4 separate regions of the Homo sapiens genome follow, and regions 1, 3 and 4 are each linked to region 2. Evidence: promoter capture Hi-C in human tissues and cell types (Jung and others, 2019). All regions are on one chromosome and are shown on one strand. The core of a region is centred on a gene start or on the middle of the fragment in contact, and the rest is flanking DNA. Distances in the headings are between cores, read along the strand shown.

Region 1 (2,700 bases), core at 36-2,535, 360 kb after region 2:
TTAAAATTATTTTCAAGTAAAAAGTTTAAAAAAAAATAGGTCACAGGGTCAGCCTAGATTTAAGAAGAGGGGAAACAGGCTCTACCTTTTAATTGAAGAAATGACAAAGTTATATCGCAAAAGAGCATTTAGGATGGGAGAGATTGTTGCACTCATTCAGTGGGCTTCTAAAAGCTGCTCAGGAAATCGTAGCATGGCATAATTTGAGTTGTATGCATGTGTGCGTGTGTGTGTGTGTGTGCGCGTGTGTGTGTGTGTGTATGTGTGCATGTCTGATTTCACATGTTTATCCACCCGAATTTGACAATTTTCCTCTTTTACTTTTGAACCAGCTGTGTTCATGTGGCCATCCACTTTCCCTTGGATCACATTTTTTAGCATAATTGTGGATAAGACTAAGGAGTAGTCACTAACTTGTCTACTGTGTTGTGCTCACCTGAAACTGAGAATTAGTCCACTGAGTGCAATAAATAATCTACAGTGGAGAGTGATTTTTTCCCCCAAAGATCTGGGTCTCTAGGCTACACCCTCTAGAATGTAGATAAACTGCTGATCATCAGTATTTATTTTGTGAGCAAATAAATCACGAAATCCCCTTATATTTTAAAGCTTGACCGTGATAATTTGCAAGTCATTTGTAAATACCTTAGAACTCATTTACAACCACATTTTACTTTCTGCTTTGGCATTTCTTAACGTTCTAAATTCACTTTACACTCCTTTAACTTTCCGTCACCTCCCAGCATAGAGATACAGGATTTAGGAAGGAAGAGGAAGAAGCCTGGGATTACTGGGCATGAAAATTCTGACAAAATTGTTTAAGAAAGCACCATATTCATAGATGAAATTGATCTATGTTTTATTCTTATGTGCTATCTATATCAGATTTAGTATAAATATGTTAGTATTCTAAAATGAATTGGAAAGGTTTCTATCTTCTTATGTTCAGCAATGATTTAAATAACATAGGAGCTGTTTGTTCTTTGAAAATCAGAAGGGACCTACATATAAAATCACCTGGGTAGGGCACGTGTTTTAAAAGTAGATCTTTGATAATTTTCTTAAAGTTTTCCACTGGTTATTGGTCTATTCAGATTTTCTACTTATTCTTGAGAAATTTTTTAAAATTTATATTTCCCAGAAAATCAGCAATTTCATCTAGATCTTCACATTTGTTGGTAAAAAGTTATACAAATATTTTATTACAATCTTCCAAATCTGTCCCATTACTGCCTTTCTCATTGACTAAGTTAGACATTTTTGGTTTTTCTTTTTTCCCTGATTAATCTTAGCCATTCTTTGTATTTTTTTTTTTTTTGGAAGAAATAAGTCTGATTTTATTTAATAATTCTACTCTTTTATCTGCTTTCTAACTCACTAGCTTTGGCTATGTGAGTACTCTCAATTTACGAATAAGGCCCAGGAACTGAGACCCCTGAATAATAAATTTTCAGCATGGATATTATAGTTATCCAAACTGATGGCAGGACATGGTAGAGAAGAAGACTGTCAGGTGTGGAAGGGTCCATAAATGAATTTGGGAGAGGTGGGAATCTCTTTCACCTTATTAGGAGTGATATCCAAGGATAGTCCTTTTAAATGATTCCCCGCAGTATGATGAATAATTTAAAGATGGTTAGAGTAAGTCAAGCATAAAGGACAAAAAGCAATAAAAGGAGAACATTTCAGTGGTACTTAGGCAGATATACCCTGCTGCTGTCAAATTGTTTTAAAGCAATTTAGAGCTTTGTGAATTCTAGGGAAAAAATTACTTAGAAGGTTATGTTTCTAAATTCAGATTTATGAAATATCTTATTATTCAGTGATGCTTTTTTCCCAACCAGTACTGTGTGCTTCCCACATCACGCAATGGAATCTTTCCCTTCTTGAACAAAGACAGATTCCTGAGGGGCAGAAAGATGATTCCATGACACTGGAAAAGCAAACTAGTCTGCCATCATTTTTATAATTTGAAGAGAAAAAAATGAGACTGAATTAGAAATGTAGGGTTCTGTCCCAAGCTTCAAATTATTATAGAGAAGTAATTCCTTGATTTCAGGTTATTCTGAGATAATAATATATGTCTCACCAAAAATTTTAATGCAGAGCAAATACAATTTTTCTTGGTATTTCATGCAAGTCAGATAATGATGCATTTATATGTATTGTGCTCTCAGTCAGGTCCAACACTGTTAATTTCATTATTACCACCACCTTTAATTCCCTGGCCCCAAGGACAGGATACGCCACAGGCCTCTTAGATGGAAATTGTTCAAAAGCATTCTCATCCACACTATTCTTGTGTCTTCTCATGGGACTCTTAACTTCTTCAGTGGCCCTGTTTTTGCCTGCTCTGAGTCTCAACCGTGTTTGAGTCTCTGCCACCCCTTAGTTTTCATTTACAACCAAACAATCATCATCAATTCTTCCTTCAATGTCTTTTTAATTCCCACTGAACTATTCTCCTTCAGCCTCTCTTGTACTATCTTTTGTTTCAGGGGTGAGAGAACAAAGATTCATTGAGCTTCTATAATGTGTTGACAGGGTGGCAGATGTTGACTGCCCCCTCATCCCCATCTTGCTCTTTTTATGGGTCAACTTGGGCCACCATAGCAAGGTATCATAGCCTAGGTAGCTCAAACAATGGAAATTACTTTGTCTCCATTCTGGAGGCTGGAAGTCCAAGATAAAGGTGTTGGC
Region 2 (2,700 bases), core at 201-2,700:
ACTGGAGTGCAATGGCATCATCTCAGCTCACTGCAACCTCCACCTCCTGGGCTCCAGCGATCCTCCCACCTCAGCCTCTGGAGTAGCTGGGATTACAGGCATGGGTCACCACGTCTGGTTAATTTTTGTATTTTTGGTAGAGACAGGGTTTTGCTATGTTGCCCAGGCTGGTTTCAAACTCCTGGACTCAAGTGATCCACTCGCCTTGACCTCCCAAAGTGTTGGGGTTACAAGCGTGAGCCACTGGGCCCGGCCTGGTAAAGCTTTAAAAATAAAAATTTATGTCACCTTTACGAAGGGAAATTTATGTCCTGCTTTTAGGCAGAAAGGGGGAGGTCAAAGTTGTTCCTGAGTCTTTAGTTTCTGAACTGTTTTAAGCTCAAGAATAATCCTTATGCTGAAGTGGCATATTTGGGGTGGCATATTCTCATCCTCTTCACTATGAATGTGGACCACATTTTTGCAGCTTTTATTTCCGCAGTTACTTATGTTTCTTTCTCTGCTATTATATGATCAGCTCCATAAGTAAAAGACCTGTCTTACCTGCACATCCTCAGCACAGAGCTCAAGCATTAAATAAATATTAGGGGAACTGGTTGTACTTTCCTACCAGCCCATAAATGGGCATCAGAAACTCAACGTGTTAGAATTATTTGAAAATCAGAGTAACTAGTTTGCCGACTTCTAGTGTGCAGCCTTTACGCCAGCTGTTGTGGCTGTGTAGGGGTCTTCTTTTCTTCCATCCCTATTCTACGATGCATTCAACATAAGCGAAGTGTTATTATTCACGAAAGGCGCTAATTTGTGGACGGATGCACCTAATGTTCTTAACCCCTGGTTTCTTCGCACTAAAACCAATCCCAATAGCATTCCGTTTCAAGTGAAAGGTTTTTATTTTTTTAAACTAAGTAAATTTCTTTTTCTCCCAATTTACTCACTGCAGTACCTTATACTACAAGAACCAGCAACTGGTTTCCTCTTAATGTCTAAACATAACATCATTGTTAAAAATTAGAGACTTTGTCACAATTTGCAGTTTTTAAAAGTAAGGTAAATAAAGTATCTCATTATACAGAAGTACAAGGTCTCGTTCTTGTACATTTCGCTCTTCCCAAATATTCTGCAATCAGAACCCTGATTGCAAAACTAAGCACATGGATTCTCAAAAGACACCAGGCCAGAGAATTCTTTCATCCTAGTCCCAATCTCGCCCTTGAAAGCGTGGGAGGGGCAAGGCTGCGCCACGGGAAATAAATGAGGGCTGCCAAAGGCCGTCGGAGGCCGCGGGGCTCGGCAGGCAGGCGAAGACCCAGCGTCGCATTGCAGAGTCGAGACGACCTGGGCTGCCGTGACGCCGCAGTCGCCGGCCCTAGTTTCCCCCGCCCTGCCCGAGCGCGTCCGCGCCTCTCGCCCGAATCCGGGTACCACCGGCGACTCGGGTCGGCCCCTTCTGGCTTGTTCCGGCGTCCGGCCTGGCATGCGGGTGCTGCGGCTGCTGCGGCTGCCGCCGCCGCTGCTGCCGCTGCCGCGGGGGCTGCGGCTTGGGAAGCTCCGCGCTTCCGCAGGCCTGGCCTCCGCCGCCCGGGCCCCCGCAGCCTGTCGCTGGACCCCGCGCCGGCCCAGCGCACCGCCCTCAGGCCCCGAGCCCCGCCCTGGCCTCCGCCTCGGCCTCGCCTCCAGCCCCGGGACGCGGCCCGCCACCGCCGCTGCCGCCAGCCCAGACGCGCCGCCCGCATGCGCCGCGACCATGGAGCGCCCCGAAGCGGGTGAGACCGGGCTGTCCAGCGGGCCGGGGCGGGGGCGACAGGAGCCGCGGGGGCCTGGGCCTGCTCTGCGCTCGAACTTTGGGAGGGCCTGACCCGCGCCGGCCCTTCTCCGAGTCTCCCTCCTTCCCAAAAGGACTCAGGGTAGCACCGAGAAGCCCGGTGCAACCGGGGTGTACATCAGTGCTGCCTGTAGCGAAGCGTTTTAATGCACGCATTGTGGGTCCGACAGGAGGCGGGGGTATGAGCCCATCCCCGAGTTTCACTTTTCTTTCTCCCTTTCTCATCCTGTGACCCTTTGCACAAAGTTCATGCCAGTACACATTCCTTCCGACGGTGTTGATGTGGGTAAATGTAAACAAAACCTAGTAAAATTTCGATTTTATCTTATATCACAAATATTAAGCACCCGAACCACCATACTGTCTCATTTAGGATTTTCTGCCAGGTTTGGACATGACCGCTTTTAAAACTGGCGCCAAGTCTACACTAGCGCCCGGAATGAATTTCCAGTTTAGGTCAGCGTTTGTTGTGAACTGAACTTTGTGATAGAGCGAGTTAGGGGTGGACTTTCGGTAAAAGGGTCCGCAAACCAATTAGAGAAAAGGTGCTCCTCTGCAAGAGTTTCATAGGATAAACTCATAGAAGAGTATAAAAAGCATAAAAACGTTAAAGTGTACTATATAAATAGCAGTTAATCGTGTGAATATGTTGACAATTGTTAAGTGAATGATGACAGTGAGTTTTTGCATTTAGGAAATGCATGGGAATGGAAATTGTTAAGGAGAAAAGAGCCATACTCCAGTTCCTTGTTTAAGTGCCGTGGCTTTGCAATTCAGGATCCTGTTAGCATATCTGTATATTTTCCTTACTCATAAAGTTTAAGATGTTTGTGGAGGTTACTTCCTCCTTTCATCCATTTTCGGACACTATTAAC
Region 3 (2,700 bases), core at 91-2,590, 290 kb before region 2:
CTCCAGCCTGGCTGCCAGAACGAGACTGTCTCAAATAAACAAATAAATAAATAAAATAAAAATCCCAGAGCCAAAAATGCAAGCATGCTAAATTTCCATTTGGTTAAACCCAGAAAAAAGTCAATTCTTAAAATGTCTGTATTACCATTAAAATATACACGAAGTGTAGCCTGCAGCCCCTGAGGACTGCTGAGTCTCTTTAAGGGGACCATAGAGTCAAAACTGTTTTCATTATCATACTAAGACATTATGTCCTTTTCAGTGTGTTGGCATTTTCACCAATGGTGTAAACAAATAATGGTGAGTAAATCTACTGGCAGCTCAGCCTACATAAGTCGAAGCAGAGGAATCAAACTATATTTGAGGTAACCTTATTCTTTTTTTTTTAGAGGCAGGGTCTTGCTCTGTCACCCAGGCTGGGGTGCAGTGGTGCAATCATAGCTCACTGCAGCCTTGAACTCCTGGACTCAAGGGATCCTCCTGCCTCAGCCTCCCAAGTAGCTAGGACTACAGGCACATACCATCACACCCAGCTAATTTTTAAAAAGTTTTTTGTGGACACAAGCTCTTGCTATACTGCCCAGTCTGGTCTCGAACTCCAGGCCTCAAGCAATCCTCTCACCTCAACCTCCCAACGTGTTCGGATTACAGGCGTGAGCCACCAGGCCTGGCCTGGCACCTTATTCTTTACCAGTGTGCACTTGCAGTAAAATAGAGAAGACAGTTTCACTTAAGGAAGTCCTTGAGGACACAGAAGAAATATTAATTTTCCTACATCTCAAGCCTGAGTGCATCTTTTTAATATTCTGTGTGATGAAATGGGAAGTATGCACACGCCATTCCCGCTGCATACAGAAGTACAACAATGTCTAGAGGAAAAGCATCTATGGGAATGTCTGAACTGTGAGTTGAAGCAGCTGCTTTTTCATCAACCACCTTTCTTACTTGAGAGAATCACTGACAGACAAGGGATGTTATTCAATTTGGATACTAGGTAAACCTTTTATTGAAAATGAAGTTGAGCCTGTCGCCTCAAGAGAAACAATTGACAGTACTTGTTGCCAATGATAAAATGCAAGCTTTTAGGTGAACATTAGAATTTGGAAAATGGTGTTTTGGCCACCATGAGCTTGATAGCTTCCCGATATTAAGACTCTTGAGGAGATCAGTGGCAGCGAATGACCCTTTTACTGTCTCCATCATTTTACCTTTTCCAGGATGTCATACAGTTTGATCATACAACATATATAGTCTTTCTAGACAGACTTCTTTCACTATGTGATGATTTTTAACTTAATAAATATTTATAAAACTTCTCAGTTTTGACTTATGATAAATTTCAATAGATACAATTCACATGAACAAAATCTCTTTGGGCCTTCAATAATTTTTAGGTGTATAAAGTGGTCCTGAGACCATTCAGTTTGAGAACTGCTTATGTCCAATCTGCTATCACTAAACTACTGCCGTTTTCTTCTGTCACAGATATTTGTGTATCTGCTGAGTACAGGGAGAAATTAAATCCAGTGTTTTTCTCTGCAGTCAAATGAAGCACAGTATCTGTTCTACAAATAATTCAGCAAAATGCTTTTGCTTTTCCTGGTTTGCTGGAACATGTTCATGCTGTTTGGAGACCCCACCTTCTTAGGAGGCTCTTCTGTGGGTCCTTTAAGGCCCAAGTCCCATCTTCAGGCCTTTTGGGACTGGGTTGACCTTCCTGAGCCCTGTGTCCTCTGAATGAACTGTATTACTCTCAAAGGCCTACATGCTAATATAACTTTACTTCAAATAGTAATAAAGATACTGAGCTTCATCTGACTGAAAAGCAAAAAAATATCGGATTTAACTTTTATAGATGTTCCTATGATATTTTACTCCTGGCTTTGCTTCCAAGTTAAATTCAATCTTACTCTTAGAGATGTCCAGTTCAGTATCCCCATTACTAACTGTCTGAACCAGTATCTTGATTTCTTTACAGGGTACTTCATCTAATCTAGAAGCTTTTCAGTCAATCATACACACTACTGATAAATTCATATTACTAAAGGACATGGCATGTAAGACCATCTGCAATTTGCCTTCAACAAATGTTTCCAGCTGTGCTGAGAACTCTATACATAACCACGATGGAGGTTTGCTTTTCCCGACATCCTTCCCATTGTTTTCCCATGTGCTCTTTCTTCCCTCCCCAATCTCCAACTATCCAGATTGCCCTTGGTGCTTTGCACAGAGGAGCTTTCCTGCAACCTTTCTGGAGAGCTTTGTCTTGTTTGGCCAATCAGAAGCATTTCTCCTGTCAACTTCCACAGCCCTTTATCTAGGCTTCTCTTCAAATATACTATTTTTGTGCCCTGAACATTATTTTTATGCATGTTCCTATGCCTTCCCCTCTCACACACAACTATAATAGTCCCTTGAACATAACAGGCTCATAATATAGATTAATGAATCCAGAAGTGAAAGTATCAGGGACTAATTTGTAACGTAAGACTGAAGAATAAGAGCTTGAGGAAACGGCAGGGAAAAAAAACAACAGAATTGCATTATATCTTTAGGAAGAAGCACTAATTCCCATGTTTACCATTACTCTCATCTGCCAATTTTCTTGTTTAAGTAGAAAAACATCAGGTTCATTTTTCTGTTCTCTTTTGTTGATTAACTATATCTATGATATCCCATGAGGACTCTTACTTCTTTAAA
Region 4 (2,700 bases), core at 60-2,559, 390 kb after region 2:
ATGGTATCTCATTGTGGTTTTGATTTGCATTTCTCTGATGACCAATGATGATGAGCATTTTTTCATGTGTCTGTTGGCTGCATAAATTTCTTTTGAGAATTGTGTGCTCATATCCTTTGCCCACTTTTTGATGGGATTGTTTGTTTTTTTCTTGTAAATTTGTTTGAGTTCTTTGTAGATTCTGGATATTAGCCCTTTGTCAGATGAGTAGATTGCAAAAATTTTCTCTCATTCTGTAGGTTGCCTGTTTACTCTGATGGTAGTTTCTTTTGCCATGCCGAAGCTCTTTAGTTTAATTAGATCCCATTTGTCTATTTTGGCTTTTGTTGCCATGCTTTTGGTGTTTTAGTCATGAAGTCCTTGCCCATGCCTATGTCCTGAATGGTATTGCCTAGGTTTTCTTCTATAGTTTTTATGGTTTTAGGTCTAACATTTAAGTCTTTAATCCATCTTGAGTTAATTTTTGTATAAGGTGTAAGGAAGGGATCTAGTTTCAGCTTTCTACATATGGCTAGCCAGTTTTCCCAGCACCATTTATTAAATAGGGAATCCTTTCCACATTGCTTGTTTTTGTCAGGTTTGTCAAAGATCAGATGATTGTAGATGTGTGGTGTTATTTCTGAGGCCTCTGTTCTGTTCCATTGGTCTATATCTCTGTTTTGGTACCAGTATCATGCTGTTTTGGTTACTGCAGCCTTGTAGTATAGCTTGAAGTCAGGTAGCATGATGCCTCCAGCTTTGTTCTTTTGGCTTAGGATTGCCTTGGCAATGTGGGCTCTTTTTTGGTTCCATATGAACTTTAAATAGTTTTTTCCAATTCTGTGAAGAAAGTCATTGGTAGCTTGATGGGGATGGCATTGAATCTATAAATTATCTTGGGTAGTATGGCCATTTTCACAATATTGATTCTTCCTATCCATGAGCATGAAATATTCTTCCATTTGTTTGTGTCCTCTTTTATTTCATTGAGCAGTGGTTTGTAGTTCTCCTTGAAGAGGTTCTTCACTTCCCTTGTAAGTTGGATTCCTAGGTATTTTATTCTCTTTGAAGCAATTGTGAATGGGAGTTCACTCATGATTTGGCTCTCTGTCTGGTATTGGTATATAGGAATGCTTGTGAGTTTTTGCAGATTGATTTTGTATCCTGAGACTGCTGAAGCTGCTTATCAGCTGAAGGAGATTTTGGGCTGAGACGATGGGGTTTTCTAAATATACAATCATGTCATCTGCAAACAGGGACAATTTGACTTCCTCTTTCCTAATTGAATGCGCTTTATTTCTTTCTCTTGCCTGATTGCCTTGGCCAGAACTTCCAACACTATGTTAAATAGGAGTGGTGAAAGAGGGCATCCTTATCTTGTGCCAGTTTTCAAAGGGTATGCTTCCAGTTTTTGTCCATTCAGTATGACATTGGCTGTGGATTTGTCATAAATAACTCTTATTATTTTGAGATACGTTCCATCAATACCTAGTTTATTGAGAGTTTTTAGCATGAAGAGCTGTTGAATTTTGTCGAAGGCCTTTTCTGCATCTATCGAGATAATCATGTGGTTTTTGTCATTGGTTCTGTTTATCTGATGGAATACATTTATTGATTTGTGTATGTTGAACCAGCCTTGCATCCCAGGGATGAAGCAAGTTTGATCGTGGTGGATAAATTTTTTGATATGCTGCTGGATTTGGTTTGCCAGTATTTTATTGAGGATTTTTGCATCGATGTTCATCAGGGATATTGGTCTAAAATTCTCTTTTTTTGTTGTGTCTCTGTCAGACTTTGGTATCAGGATGATACTGGCCTCATAAAATGAGTTAGGGAGGATTCCCTCTTTTTCTATTGATTGGAATAGTTTCAGAAGAAATGGTAGCAGCTCCTCTTTGTACCTCTGGTAGAATTCGGCTGTGAATCCATCTGGTCCTGGATTTTTTTTGTTGGTAGGCTATTAATTATTGCCTCAATTTCAGAACTTGTTATTGGTCTATTCGGAGATTCAACTCTTCCTGGTTTAGTCTTGGGAGGGTGTATGTGTCGAGGAATTTATCCATTTCTTCTAGATTTTCTAGTTTATTTGCATAGAGGTGTTTATAGTATTCTCTGATGGTAGTTTGTATTTCTGCGGGAATGGTGGTGATATCCCCTTTATCATTTTTTTATTGTGTCTACTTGATTCTTCTCTCTTTTCTTCTTTAGTAGTCTTGATAGTGGTCTATCAATTTTGTTGATCTTTTAACAAAAAACCAGCTCCTGGATTCATTGATTTTTGAAGTTTTTTTTGTTTGTCTGTCTCCTTCAGTTCTGCTCTGATCTTAGTTATTTCTTGTCTTCTGCTAGCTTTTGAATGTGTTTGATCTTGCTTCTCTAGTTCTTTTAATTGTGATGTTAGGGTGTCAATTTTAGATCTTTCCTGCTTTCTCTTGTGGGCATTTAGTGCTATAAATTTCCCTCTACACACTGCTTTAAATGTGTCCCAGAAATTCTGGTACATTGTGTCTTTGTTCTCATTGGTTTCAAAGAACATCTTTATTTCTGCCTTCATTTTGTTATGTACGCAGTAGTAATTCAGGACCAGGTTGTTCAATTCCATGTAGTTGTGTGGTTTTGAGTGAGTTTCTTAATCCTGACTTCTAATTTGATTGCACTGTGGTCTGAGAGACAGTTTGTTGTGGTTTCTGTTCTTTTACATTTGCTGAGGAATGCTTTACT

Evidence for each region. Contacts are between HindIII fragments. The study calls those that stand out against the background at their distance.
Region 1: a contact is called between a fragment that was not itself captured here and the fragment with the promoter of AKAP7 in region 2, in 4 of the 25 tissues and cell types used here (H1 embryonic stem cells, liver, lymphoblastoid cells and 1 more).
Region 3: a contact is called between a fragment that was not itself captured here and the fragment with the promoter of AKAP7 in region 2, in 3 of the 25 tissues and cell types used here (aorta, dorsolateral prefrontal cortex and mesendoderm cells).
Region 4: a contact is called between a fragment that was not itself captured here and the fragment with the promoter of AKAP7 in region 2, in 2 of the 25 tissues and cell types used here (H1 embryonic stem cells and mesendoderm cells).

What each region holds. Positions count from the first base shown.
Region 1 is chr6:131,494,921-131,497,620 of GRCh38, forward strand. No RefSeq gene overlaps it. Among named protein-coding and RNA genes, the nearest start is that of ARG1, 77 kb to the right of the region's middle. The HindIII fragment of the contact is 4,110 bases long and covers 1-2,700 here.
Region 2 is chr6:131,134,017-131,136,716 of GRCh38, forward strand. AKAP7 (A-kinase anchoring protein 7) reads left to right here and starts at 1,451. Exons shown (of 8, transcript NM_016377.4): 1 at 1,451-1,766. The coding sequence starts at 1,748. RefSeq lists enhancers at 1,082-1,582, 2,019-2,078 and silencers at 1,409-1,498, 1,649-1,758. The HindIII fragment of the contact is 8,304 bases long and covers 107-2,700 here.
Region 3 is chr6:130,845,008-130,847,707 of GRCh38, forward strand. The region is part of intron 19 of EPB41L2 (erythrocyte membrane protein band 4.1 like 2); the gene reads right to left. Among named protein-coding and RNA genes, the nearest start is that of SMLR1, 19 kb to the left of the region's middle. The HindIII fragment of the contact is 3,170 bases long and covers 1-2,700 here.
Region 4 is chr6:131,526,880-131,529,579 of GRCh38, forward strand. No RefSeq gene overlaps it. Among named protein-coding and RNA genes, the nearest start is that of ARG1, 45 kb to the right of the region's middle. The HindIII fragment of the contact is 4,189 bases long and covers 1-2,700 here.